Linked DNA regions of Homo sapiens: region 1 is linked to region 2. The links are contacts of gene promoters, found by promoter capture Hi-C in blood cells and fetal thymus (Javierre and others, 2016). All regions are on one chromosome and are shown on one strand. The core of a region is centred on a gene start or on the middle of the fragment in contact, and the rest is flanking DNA. Distances in the headings are between cores, read along the strand shown.

Region 1 (6,510 bases), core at 4,010-6,509, 140 kb after region 2:
CCATCACTCTCGGCCTGATTTTATCTTTTAATGATACATACTGGTTGCCTAAAAATCAATTTGCTGAAAGATAACTAACCAAAAAGTCAATTTACTGAAAGCCAATTCACTGAACACTCAATTTGTAAAACGACCAGTTTGCTAAATTTAGTTTTACTTTCAAGTTTTTTTGTAAGAAGTATGTGCTTACTTCATAAAACTACAAAACATAAGTAAACATAAAGCAGAAAATTTAAATAACTCATATTTCCACAATGCATAATCAGCTAACATTTAAATGTATATTTCTCCATACATTTTCTGCATTCATTTAATTCACATAGTATTGTTTTTAAGAAAAGTAGATCATATTGTATATAATATTTTTAAGTTTTTTATTTAAAAAATATTATTAACATTTTCATATAAATAAATACAATTAAACATCATTCTTAATGGGCGTATGGTATTCCTTTGACAGGAGACCCATAATTAAATCTGGCAATTCCTCTTTGACAATTTCTATGTCCAATTTTTCACTATGATAAACAATGCTGAGAAGAATGTGCATTTTTTGCAAACATAACATTATTTTCTTAGGATAAACTCCTAAAGTGCAGTTGTTGTATCTACAGACTTGCTCTTTATTACATTCTTTTATACATGCTGCTGAACTATACATACATAAGGGTTTGTGTAGTGTCCCCTAGTTCCCCCGACTTCCTTTCTGTGTCCTCACTGAAAATCACAGAGTGCCCTGACCACTTTGTGACCCAGCCAGCTGCAGGTTTTACCCAGCAGGCTCAACCCCAAGCCCTTGAACATTCTCAGGCACTGATAAAGGTTATCTAGGTTGTTGCCCAAAACACTAAAAGAAACGAGCCCCAGCCCTGAGCCAAACTCCTTCAGCCCTCATAAAGGCTCCACACCTCGGCCCCCTCACTGTGGACATACCCATGTAGTACACCCCCTTTCTCTTGCTGTCTCTGGTGAGGGTGGCCATAGCCCTCTGTAAGTTTTTCCTGATAAATGCTGATCACTCTAGCATTTACTATTTCTTTAGAATCTCAACCAGACCCATCTTGGGAAGGTTTGGGGAACATCCTTATGGAAACTCCCCTGCCACTGTTTTTGTTTTTATTATTATACTTTAAGTTTTAGGGTACATGTGCACAATGTGCAGGCTAGTTACATATGTATACATGCGCCATGCTGGTGTGCTGCACCCACCAACTCGTCATTTAGCATTAGGTATATCTCCTAATGCTATCCCTCCCCCCTACCCCCACCCCACAACAGTCCCCAGAGTGTGATGTTCCCCTTCCTGTGTCCATGTGTTCTCATTGTTCAATTCCCACCTATGAGTGAGAATATGCAGTGTTTGGTTTTTTGTTCTTGTGATAGTTTACTGAGAATGATGATTTCCAATTTCATCCATGTCCCTACAAAGGACATGAACTCATCATTTTGTATGGCTGTATAGCATTCCATGGTGTATATGTGCCACATTTTCTTAATCCAGTCTATCATTGTTGGACATTTGGGTTGGTTGCAAGTCTTTGCTATTCTGAATAGTGCCGCAATAAACATACGTGTGCGTGTGTCTTTATAGCAGCATGATTTATAGTCCTTTGGGTATATACCCAGTAATGGGATGGCTGGGTCAAATGGTATTTCTAGTTCTAGATCCCTGAGGAATGGCCACACTGACTTCCACAATGGTTGAACTAGTTTACAGTCCACCAACTGTGTAAAAGTGTTCCTATTTCTCCACGTCCTCTCCAGCACCTGTTGTTTCCTGACTTTTTAATGATTGCCATTCTAACTGGTGTGAGATGGTATCTCATTGTGCTTTTGATTTGCATTTCTTTGATGGCCAGTGATGGTGAGCATTGGTGACTCCAGCCATGGGTTCAGCTGGAGTAAACAGTTTACCTATACACACCCCATAGGTAATATATGAGAGTACCTTTTTCCCCACACCTTAACTTACAGTGGATATTATCATTCAAAAAACTTCTCAATCCAATTTGATTCTGAAAATGACATATTTTGATCATATTTCTTTGATTACTAGTGGTGCTGAATATTGGACATGTTTTGTTGACCATATCTATTTTTTTCATTTTAAATCTACTTTATAGATTTAAGTACAGTAAATTATTAAATACCATGCAAAATGCGCCTATTGTATGTGAACATGTCCATTACCACACAAAGCTCCCTAACGCACCTCTGCATTCAATCCCTCCACTGTCCCTGAGCCCCAGGCAACCACTGACTTGCTATTTATCATTATTGATTTATTTTGCCTGATGTAAAATTTTATACAGGTGAAATCCTACAGTATGTACTCCTTTGTGTCTGGCATCTTTTGCCCAGTCTAATCGTTTTGAGATTCATCCATATTGTTGAGTATAGCAGTAGTACATTCCTTTGTATTGATGAGTAGTAATCTGATGTATGATTATTTTCACAAACTTGTTTATCCATTTACTTGTTCATAGACAGTTAAACTGTTTCCGGTTCAGGCTTTTATGAATAAAGCATATATAAGCATTCATGTACAAAACATTTTGTAAGTGTGTATTTTCATTTCTCTTGGATAAATACCTAATGTTAGAATTGTTGGGTCATAGGCAAGTTTAACTTTATAAAAACTGCCAAACCATTTGTTTCAGTCTGTTTTGTGTTGCTGTAACAGAATACCTGAAGCTGGGTAATTTATAGAGGAAAGAGGTTTATTTGGCTCATGATTCCAGAGTCTGAAAGTCCAAGAGCATGGTGCTGCAGTCTGCTTGGTTTCTGGTGAGGGCTCATTCTTGTGAGCAAGAACTCACTACCATAAGAACAGCACCAAGCTGCCCATAAAGGTGAGACCTCATGACCCAAATGCTTCCCAGCAAGCCCCACCTCTTAAGAGTTTCACTTCTCTACATTGGTGCACTGGGAATTAAGCTTCCATCATGAGTTTTGTCCGGGACACTCAAATCATAGCACCACTTTATAGAGAAGTTATTCAATTGTACATTCCCAACAGCAATGTAGGAAAGGTCCAGTTGCTCTACATCCTCAACAAAACTTGATATTGTCAGATTTTTAAATTTTTAACATTTCTAGTGGGTATATAGTGTTATGCCAGTGTGTTTTTAATTTGCATTTACCTGATGTTTAATGATACTGAGCATCTTTTCATGTATTTCTTGACCATTTGCGTATCTTCTTTTATGAGGTAACTATCTAAATTTTGGAGTCAATTTTAATTGGGTTGTTTGTCTTTAGATGATTTGTAAGAGACTTGTTTTATCTCCTAAAATAAATCTTTTGATATATGCATTGAATATTTTTTCCCAATCTGTGTCTCACCTTTTCATTTCCTTAATGGTGTATGATCTGAAGTGGTGCAGAAGTTTGGATACCATGAACTCTCAAAACGAACCAACCAAAACTCCCTACAAGAATAAACTGGAAGGAATAAAACCCAAACTAAGCAGAATAGAAACATTAGAGACAAAAGAAAGAAACAATCCAGATAAAAGCAGAAAAGGGGCAGAACCAAGAGATCTCAGGTGGTAAGGCATCATATTTTCAGCACTTCACAGAAAAAACAAAGAAGAGGTTCCACATGTGTGAAATTAGGAAAAAACTAATTTGATATTAAAATGAATAGAAAAGAATCAAGGTAAATCCCATATAAAGTTATTATTATTATTATTATAAGAAAGAAGAATGATTTTCTACAGAAAATATAGAGCAAGCTACAAAGACATGCTGACAAACAAATAATAAAACTCAGCATTAGTAAAAAATTATAAATTAAGCAATAAGACTCAGGAAATTGTTAGAAATAAAAAAGTTTCAGAAATTGAGACTGAACTAGGAGTAACCAAAATAAAATAAACACAACAGATAGTGCCTTAGGAGAAATCAAAGGTGAAAACAAGGGAGAAAAAATGAAATGAAGAGGATTTGGGGGAAAGTAACAAATGTAGACACTAGGTAAAGATCTAGCTGGCAACTGGCATAGAGTAGGAGCCTCAACAGAGAAATCTAAACCAATAGAACAAGTAATAAAAACTGTAATTCAAGAAACTTTCTGGCATTAAAACAATAGATTTAAAGTAACATGTTAAAAGAAACATCACACCTAAGAAAATTGTCTCAGAATGAACATTAAAATATATCCTAGTAAGATTATTGGACTTCAAAAAAAAAAAAAACACACTTTGATAACTATGTAGTCCTACAGTTCCTAGTTCTGCTTGAAAAGACCTAAAAGCAATGGCTAAGCCAAGAGCAATGAGCCTCTCTAGCACCTAATTTGTGTTCTTGAAATATCATTTCCCTGCTAAAAGAAATCAAATTTCTAGGAGAAATGGTTGATTTCCAGGTCTGAGGAATTAAATGTATGAAATGTGCCGAGACCAGCTCGGTCCGAGAGACCCTAACCCAGCAGCGCTACAGGAATTAAAGACATGCACACAGAAATATAGAGGTGTGAAGTGGGAAATCAGGGGTCTCACAGCCTTCAGAGCTGAGAGCCCCGAACAGAGATTTACCCACGTATTTATTAACAACAAACCAGTCATTAGCATTGTTTCTATAGATATTAAATTAATTAAAAGTATCCCTTAAGGGAAACGAAGGGATGGGCCGAATTAATTGCAGCAGGAACACGTCCTTAAGACACAGATCGCTCAGACTTTTGTTTGTGGCTTAAGAATGCCTTTAAGCGGTTTTCCGCCCCGGGCGGGCCAGGTGTTCCTTGCCCTCATTCCCGCAAACCCACAACCTTCCAGCTTGGGCGTTATGGCCATTGTGGACATGTTACATTGCTGCAGAGATTTTATTCATGGCCAGTTTTGGGGGCAGTTTATGACCAGACTTTGAGGGACTTGCTCCCAGCAGAAATGAGTTCATAACATCTTGTCATATAAGATAGCAAGGAAGGCATAATACTAGAAACTACTAACACCATGTCAAAGACACCGGAGACAAACTGAAGAGAATTCTACAGGCCAAAGATAGAAAAATGTGATCAACAAAAATAACTGCAATAAGTTAACTTCGTTATCCGTTACACTTATTTTACACATAAAATGTGTTTACAGTGGTGAGTTTATAATAAAGAAAAATAACTGGTCACCTTTGGAGTATAACAGGATATCAAGTTATTGTTTTGAAACTTAGAAAACGCAGGTGATGTGTTTTTACATTATCTGTGGTATCAGATACACAAGACTATGTGTTTGATAAAATTTCGTAGAACTAAATACATGCACAGATGAGTGTAAGTAAAACTGGGGAAGTCTGAATAAAATCCGTGAATTGTATCAATGTCAATAATCCTGGGTATGATATTGTACAATCATTTTGCAAGATGTTACCACTGAAGGAAAATGGCATAAAATAGACAGCAAAGAATCTTTCTTCATTATTTCCTGCAATAACATATGAAACTACAATTATCTCAAAATAAAAAGTTTAATTTAAAAATCTTCATTGCAATATATTCATGGATAACAAAATACTGAATATGTTCTTGAATAGGAAATTTCCTTATGAACACACTTCTCTTATGAATGAGCCTGTATGAATGAAGAGTTCTTTTAGTCCACCTTCACATGCTCCTGAACCTCCTGTCATTCTATACTGTCAGTTTACTTGGTGCAGCAGCAGGGTGCCAAATTCAGCATTCCCTTATAAATGTAAGGAACGTAACATTCCTTTACTAAAAGTATACAGCTTGTTTTTTAAAAAATTGAATTTGTTTTTAAAACACATTATAATAAACATTTTAAAGCTAGTCAATTGTGCATAATCATGAATAATAAGTAACAACCATAGTGGTAGTAACTGATGATGGTGTTGATGGCAATGAGTGAGGTGGTTGTGGTGATGATGGACATAATGATCATAATCATGACGATTGTGACAATAGTAATGGGACTGTTGATAGTAAAATATTCCAAAGCTGGCATTAGACTGTAAGTTTCCCTAGCTGCAAGATCACTCTACCAATAACAGGAAAATTAACACACCTGGGAGACAAAGCATGTTTCTCAGAGCCAGTGTAAAGCAAGGCTCTAATTGCTCTGTTAGTGAGAACCCCAGCCTCTCAAGTGATTATAGCCCAGGAAATATTGTGCCCACATATTCGTAAACACAATCCCAAGCCCCCAGTCTTAGTGATCCATTTTTTAATGAATTTGAGTAAATGTAGGACTCAGTATAAATCAGTATGGTTCCTGCATTTTCTGATTGTTGAAACCAAGGCAGCCCTTAAAGTTTCCAGCAGACTGTGCTTTATTTTTCCTCATCACAGGTATTTAATTACAAACTTAAAGCAATTGCCTGAGAAAAATATTTCTTCCATGAACTCTTGTTTGTGATGCAGACTATTTACAACCATATATTTACTTTCACCACTATGTGCTTTTTTAATCTGTGTGCTGTGTTCTCATTGGCAGTTATCCTAAGGCTCTTATGGCTTAGTGAAACTAAAGGTAATAATTGTAGTAACTAATATAA
Region 2 (7,232 bases), core at 346-2,845:
GAAATTGGCCCAATTACACAGGATCACTTACCCCTGATTACCATTCCAAGGCCCAGAAGCTTTAGAACTTTGAAATAAAAGATTTGGATTTGATTTATCCTTACAGAGCAGATCATAGAAAATTCTTGTGTGAGGGCTTCTTTTATGTACATACATGTATATGAAAAGGAGGGTTTATGATCTTCCTGACCAAGCAACCTCCTGAAGAGCTGGATATATAATCATATTAGCACTGGCACCAAGGTATCTACCATTGATCTTTAATAAGTCTGCTTATGTAACTAAAGAGAAAACACTCCTCAACCTTTATACCACCACCTGCCCCTTGTTCCAGCCAGAAACGTTCTTGCTCAGAAAAACCCATTTAGCCTACCAAGAAAAGAATGGAAGGCATGGAGCCTCATCTTACTCATCTCTTGGGCCTAATACAGAGTTCAGTAAACAAAAGGCATTTCATAGACACTAACTTGCAGGCAGTGAGCCAATTTAATTGTTGCAAAATAATATAGTCCTCAAGGAGAGTATAGGAAAGAGATTTCCAATTTTTAAAAGTGGAGAGGAGACCCTCTTTGAGGAAAAATATTAAAATTCCTCCGCCTATAAATAGAAAGACACTTGAGTATCATGCTTACCGAGAATCGGTTGCCAGTGATATGAAGAGACCCATTAGAAGAGCACTCTCTTCAGGGTTTTGCCCAGGGCAAGTTTATCATCCTTATTCCTCAAACTGTAGATCGAAGGGTTAAGCATGGGAACCACATTGGTGTAAAAGACTGAGGCAAATCTGCCATGGTTCATAGAGCCAGGAAAAGATGTTGTTAAGTAGGTGAATGTCCCTGACCCAAAAAACAGAGCAACAGCAATTATGTGGGAGCCCCATGTGCTAAAGGCTTTGGATCTGCCCTCTGCAGAAGGAATACAGAGGATGTTGGAGAGTATCAAAGCGTAAGAGATGACGATGCTTATGCTGGATAGCATGGTGATTACTCCAACAACAATGAAAAATACCAGCTCACTGACATGGGTGCTGGTGCAGGAGAGCTGCAAGAGGGGGAGAACGTCACACAGATAATGGTCAATGACGTTGGAATCACAGAAGGTCAGTCGCAGCATGCTTCCAGTGTGGGCCATGGCCCCAGCAAACCCTACCACATAGGAACCAAACATCAGCAGAAAGCAGACCCTTGGGGACATGGTGACCATGTAGAGCAGGGGGTTGCAGATGGCCACATAGCGATCATAGGCCATTGATACCAACACATAGCACTCAGAATTGACAAAGAAACAGAAGAAAAATAGCTGAGTCATACATCCCACATAAGAGATGATACTTTCTGAAACAAAGTCATTCAGCATTTTGGGGGTAAACACACAGGAATAACAGAGATCTATAAAGGACAAGTTGAAGAGGAAAAAGTACATGGGGGTGTGAAGGCTAGGATTTATCCCAATTAAGGTGATCAAGCCCAAGTTGCCCACCACAGTGAACACATAGATCCCTAAGAATAGAAGGAAAAGAGGGAGCTGGAGCTCTGGCTGTTCTGATAATCCCACAAGGATAAACTCAGTCACTGAGGAGCTGTTTCTCAGAGTCATTCTCTCTTGGCGAGCTGTCTGGGGAAGCAGAGGGCAAAACACAAAGAGTCATGACAGGCACAAGCATGGCTAAGGGAAGAAGACTCTAGTGGACCAGCCAGTGTGCAGATGCCCTCTCTTCCATCCTCCCTCATCTACACACCTCCCCACCCTGAGGTATTAACAACGTGTCTGTGAGAGGATCTCAGCTCTGCTGGGCCGATCATGAATTCAAGCTAGCATCTGTTACCATGGGCAGCAAGAATTCCGTCTCTGCTTGAGAGATGACGAGGGAGACAACACACCTGAATTGGCTGCCCAGGGACTCTCAGAAAGACACCCTGAGAACCAAGAGTACAACCTGGGCCGCTGCCTCAAGAGCTGAGAGACCAGAGCTCTCAAGGTCACCAGGATGCCCTCCCATTCTCTGCCTCCGTCTCCCAACTAGATAGTGGATTTCCATCTGGAGAGAAAGCCAAGAGTGTTACCTGCTGGCTCTTTACATCCCACCCGCCTCCTCGAAGACCCTCCATTCCATCTCACCTCAGGGTCAGTGTTGAGAGCAGAGACGGGATCCATACTTCCCAGAGCCCTTGGTTGTGGGTTTCAAAGAGACCATCAGGAAAGACAGGATTCGGACCTTCACCTTCCTTCTCCCGGGCCCCACTCAGTGCTGGGCCTTACGCCATCTCTTTTTCCATTAGCCAGAAAGAGAAAATGGTGCTGCTTGTGCAGAAAGCACACAGCCTTGCGTATTACCTCTTTTGACTCCCTTGGTGCTGAGAATCAGAGCTTTTACAGACCCCAGGCTCCAAGGTGCTCAAGGAATAGACCATGGTTTCTGTTTGTGGATTTTCCCAGGTGGTCTTGACAACTTCAGGAAAAAAAACTAGGAACTCTCATTTTGACCAGAACCCCAGCTGTCATATCACAGAGGAATTTAAGCTGCTTGACGATCTCAGGGACCTGATTAGACACAGTTTCCCCTGGGAATTTCTCCAAGATCTGTCTCTATAGGGAAGGAATTGCACTGTCTTTGTTTACAGCCTGGATAACGGTGCTTACCTAGCATCTTGGGAGTGGGGGTTCCACTCAAACTTTCCCTCTACTCCAGGGATTTCATGTTATTCAGTGCTGAGTTTGGGGACTCATTTTTTCCTTTCTCATTAACTCTCAGAGCCTAAGCTTGAATTTAAGAGTGAATAGCCCCAACCTAAGCCACCATCTCCAAATCTTCACAGGGAGCTATGAGAGTAGGACCCCTCAGAAAAGGTCAGATCAGATCTACAGAGAGCACCTCAGATAAAAGGCTTCTTGGACCATGCGCTGCTCAGAACAGAAACCACACCACCTCCACCACAAACACCACCTACTCGCAGCTCTAATAAGGGCCGCAGACAGGCCTTTACTATATATGAAGAGATTAAAATATCACAACACATATGCTAGAAAGCACACACACACACACACACACACACACACACACACACACACACCCCTACACAGAGTTACTCTCTAGGCATGCAGGCTTAAGGTATAATGGGAGATGGATGTAAGGGTCTAATCCTGCCATTATTCAGATGACAAAGCTGCTCTCCATATGATCTGCTAGATGAATATTTTAAGAAAAATTCAAAGACATGGGAGCATCTGCATTTGTAAGTTTCACTAAGGCTACCTAAAATAATCCCAGTTCGCCTGGGACAGTCCTGACTTACACTCATTATCTCTGTATAATTATTAATAGCATACCCTTTCACTCTCAGAAGTGTCTGGACTTGGACAACAAATTGTGTATACTAACTAAAAGTAAGTAGGCATATTTACCTAAAGACATGCCAAGATTGTGCACTGCAGCGTTGTCCTTAACAGCCACAAACTGAAATCACCCCATCTGTCAGCCAACTGTAGACCGGATAATAAATGGTAGGATGTTAATAAAATAGAATTCCATATAGCCATGAAAGATAATGACATAGATAAATGTCACAAACCAACAGAGAGTGAAAGGAGCCAAGCACAGAAGAGGGTATATTTTATGATTTCATTTACATACAGTTTAGAAACAAGGAAGCTAATCTATGGTGCTAGAAGTCACACAGCAGTTCCTCTTGGCTGGGCAGGCAGGGGCTAGTGACTGGAGAAGGATGTGAAGGGTGCTTTAGGGTTGCTGGCAATGTCTGGTTCTGACAGGGGTGCTGGTGACACAGATGTATGCAGTTAGCAAAAATTCATCGAGCTCTATCCTTATGTTACACTTAAATAAAAAGTTTATTTAAAACGTAAGTGGAGAACAAAAAATAAATCATCCTACCAAATTAGTTTAAGACAAAAATTACTCAACAGCTTTGAGCTATAATTCCCCCATTTGTAAAATGGATATTTACTGCCCTGACAACTCAATATAGTAGAACGTGCAAGAAAAATAACACCGTTTATGTTTCTTTTCCATCTTATGTCTCTTAAAATAAAAAACCATTTTTTAATATAAAGGGAAGAAATCAAGAGAAAAGAGAATTAATGCATATGGAGCAACTACAGAGTGCCTGGCCTTATGCTGGATGTTTTCTGATGTAATATGTTGTTTATAACAACTATACAATGTGTATGTGTGTGGCAGATTGTATTTCCCAAGTATGACTATACTGGTGCACACACACATACACAGTCACGCATGTATACCTTACATCCCACATGCTCTTGATATAATAGGACTGAAACTCCTCCAATCAAAAGATGAGGCCTATATGCCCTAATTTTGCCTCTAGGCAGGGACTTGGGATTTTTCCAATCACTAGAGTATGGTGGAAGTGACGCTATGTGACTTTCAAGATTGGGTCATAAAAGGGTAGAGCTTCCACCAGGCATGCATTCTCTCTCTCTATATATATATATATTCTCCCTCTCTCTATCTCTCCCCTCTCCCCAAACCTCTTTTGACATCCCTTAACCTTCAGGAAAGTCATGTTAAAACCCTCTGGCCTTGTCACAAGATAAAATCACATAATTACATGCCATAGGAACTTAACTCTTGTTTATGTCACTTACCCTATAGGAAAATTGCTCTCATTATACAGTACATTATTTCACTTGAAGTTGTGGTTTCCAAGCACCTACCAAAAATTTTGAGTGCAGATTTACCGTACACTATAAGGTAGCAAGTGTGTGGTCATTTGTCCAGTGTTGAGGGGCAGGAGCCCCTTAGGACCTACATGCCAGTGAGTGGACACTTGGAAAAACACTCAAGGGAAATAGCCAGGGGACTCACCAGAACAGGTCTGGATCACTTGGCCCAATTCTCCCACACTACCAAGGAAGTCTCCTTCCAGTTCCATATTTGAATAATGTTTATGAGGTTTACTTTTATGAAGAAAACAAGCATTGCTATTTAGTACACATAATTCCTTACCCATTGCATTTTCCCATCCTGAATGGCAGTTTATTAGGTATGCAGCAATGATCTAACAATGGAAGAGAGAATCTTCTGTTCATTAGAGTAGACGTCAATTTATTAATCATCCAACAAATATTTATTAAAGCTAGTTATTTCCAGTAATATTGCAAAAGCTATTGTATTAGTCAGGGTTCTCTAGAGGGACAGAACTAATGTGATACATAGAGAGAGGCGTTTATTAAGTATTAATTCACATGATCACAAGGTCCCACAATAGGCTGTCTGCAGGCAGAGGAGCAAGGAGAGCCAGTCCAAGTCCCAAAACTGAGGACCCTGGAGTCCATTGTTCGAAGGAAGGAAGCATCCAGCATGGGAGAAAGGTGTAGGCTGGGAGGCTAGGCCAGTCTCTCTTCTACATTTTTCTGCCTGCTTATATTCTAGTCTCGACGGCAGCTGATTAGATTGTGCCCACCCAGATTAAGGGTGGGTCTGCCTTTCCCAGCCCACTGACTCAAACATTAATCTCCTTTGGCAACACCCTCACAGACACACCCAGGATCAATACTTTGTATCCTTCAATCTAATCAAGTTGACAGTATTCAGCATCACAGTTATATTCAGAAAGAGTTCTTGGGATAAAAACAAAAACCAAGAATTCTGGACAAAATATTAAAAGCATCTATTTGTTCATATTTGAGCTGCCAAAAACTAAGTAAAAATCTGCGAGAGCAAAAGAGAAGAAGTAAGAAAGTAAGACTTCAGAGGGATGCACAAACCCCAGAGCTAGAGTTTGCCTTTGGGGAACTAGCGGATTCCTGGGGGGTCAGAGCTGGGGTTTAATGAGTTAGCTATGCAGGAGATAAAAAGATAAAGCCTGGAACTTTAAGCAGGTTGGAAGTTTGGAACCATGACTGACATAATTCTGACTCCCCAGGAAAAAAAAAAATTCTCCATGGCTAACTTGGAGAAAAAATGCCCACAGTAGGAGCAGGCCTAGAAATGTGACCGACTTGGCCTTGGCTCTAGAATGGCAGAAAAACAGACAAAATAGCCTCTGACAATTTCTAATCACCTCTGTGTTTCAAGTAAAAAATTCATATTACAAATATGACAATAACAAAAAGTTCTTTCTGGAGAATAAAACTTAAATCCAGATATGAAATTATTTCCCCAGATAAATATCCAAGGATCATGAGCTCATGATGAAAATTTTAAACAAACACAAAATAATCCACCATCAATAAGACTCACCAGGAATGATAAAACACAATTTATGTACCTAGCCAAACCTGCAAAATTACTAGCTTGTCAGGGACAGAAAACAAAATAGATGCATACAATATGTTTTTAAAAATTAAAAATTAAAAAGCAAACTGAAAGTATAATGAAGGAACCATCAAAACTGAAAGAACTCCCCAAACTTTAAAGAATCAAATAGAATTTTTAGAAATGAAAATATGGTGATTAAAATTGGGACCTCTATGAATATGTTAGAGAGCTTATGTTAGACACAAGTGAAGAGAAAATAAGTAAACTGGAAGGTAGATCTGAAGAAATTGTCCGGAAAAGTCAACATCAGTGTGGGAGAGACTATGAATTAGAAATACAATTTAAGATATGTAGAAATAGGAAGTTCCAATGTGTGTGTGTGTGTGTGTGTGTGTGGTATACACACAAGCATTTAAAATAATTTAAACCCCGTGTTTTGCTCTAAAAACAAGGCAACAATGAAAACAGACACAACCCCTTAACTTTCAAACATATAATCTAGATGGAGAAAGCTAGAAGAAACAGATATTGACACATAATTAGAAATACAGTAAGTGTGCCAGGAAGAGGCTATAGAGTTCTGTGAAAACATTTAAAGTGGGCCCTACCAAGTCTTCAAGGTCAGAGAAGGCCTCCCTAAAGAAGTGAAATTCAGTTTTAAAGCTAAATTTAAGTAGACATTTAAAAATGTATAGCTGTTTGTTTGTGACTGTCCAGCATTGGAATTCCTTCCAAATTGAGGACTCTGCCCCTGTGTGAGCCTTGGCTGAAGCAAGGACCCAGCCTCCTTCTGTGAAAGCACCCCAGAGAACATCAGAGCTAGCTCAGCCAGTCAGATGTTCCCAGGCAGAACTCTTCAGTTTGGGGTGAGTGACAGAAAAAAAACAGGAGCAATTTATATTTCATTTTTGCAAAATCAAAAACAAAAATCTACCAATCAATAAAAATGTTAGGTACTAGTGGTGCCAACATGAACAATCGGTGCAGCCTAACC

Evidence for each region. The method cuts DNA at HindIII sites, captures the fragments that hold promoters and counts their contacts. A CHiCAGO score of 5 or more calls a contact.
Region 1: a fragment that was not itself captured here is called in contact with the fragment with the promoter of OR8B4 in region 2 in 3 of 17 cell types (M1 macrophages, M2 macrophages and endothelial precursors); the score reaches 6.7 in M1 macrophages.

What each region holds. Positions count from the first base shown.
Region 1 is chr11:124,560,401-124,566,910 of GRCh38, forward strand. No RefSeq gene overlaps it. Among named protein-coding and RNA genes, the nearest start is that of OR8A1, 6.3 kb to the right of the region's middle. The HindIII fragment of the contact is 4,648 bases long and covers 2,936-6,510 here.
Region 2 is chr11:124,423,276-124,430,507 of GRCh38, forward strand. OR8B4 (olfactory receptor family 8 subfamily B member 4) reads right to left here and starts at 1,596. Exons shown (of 1, transcript NM_001005196.1): 1 at 667-1,596. The coding sequence starts at 1,596. The coding sequence ends at 667. The HindIII fragment of the contact is 2,701 bases long and covers 58-2,758 here.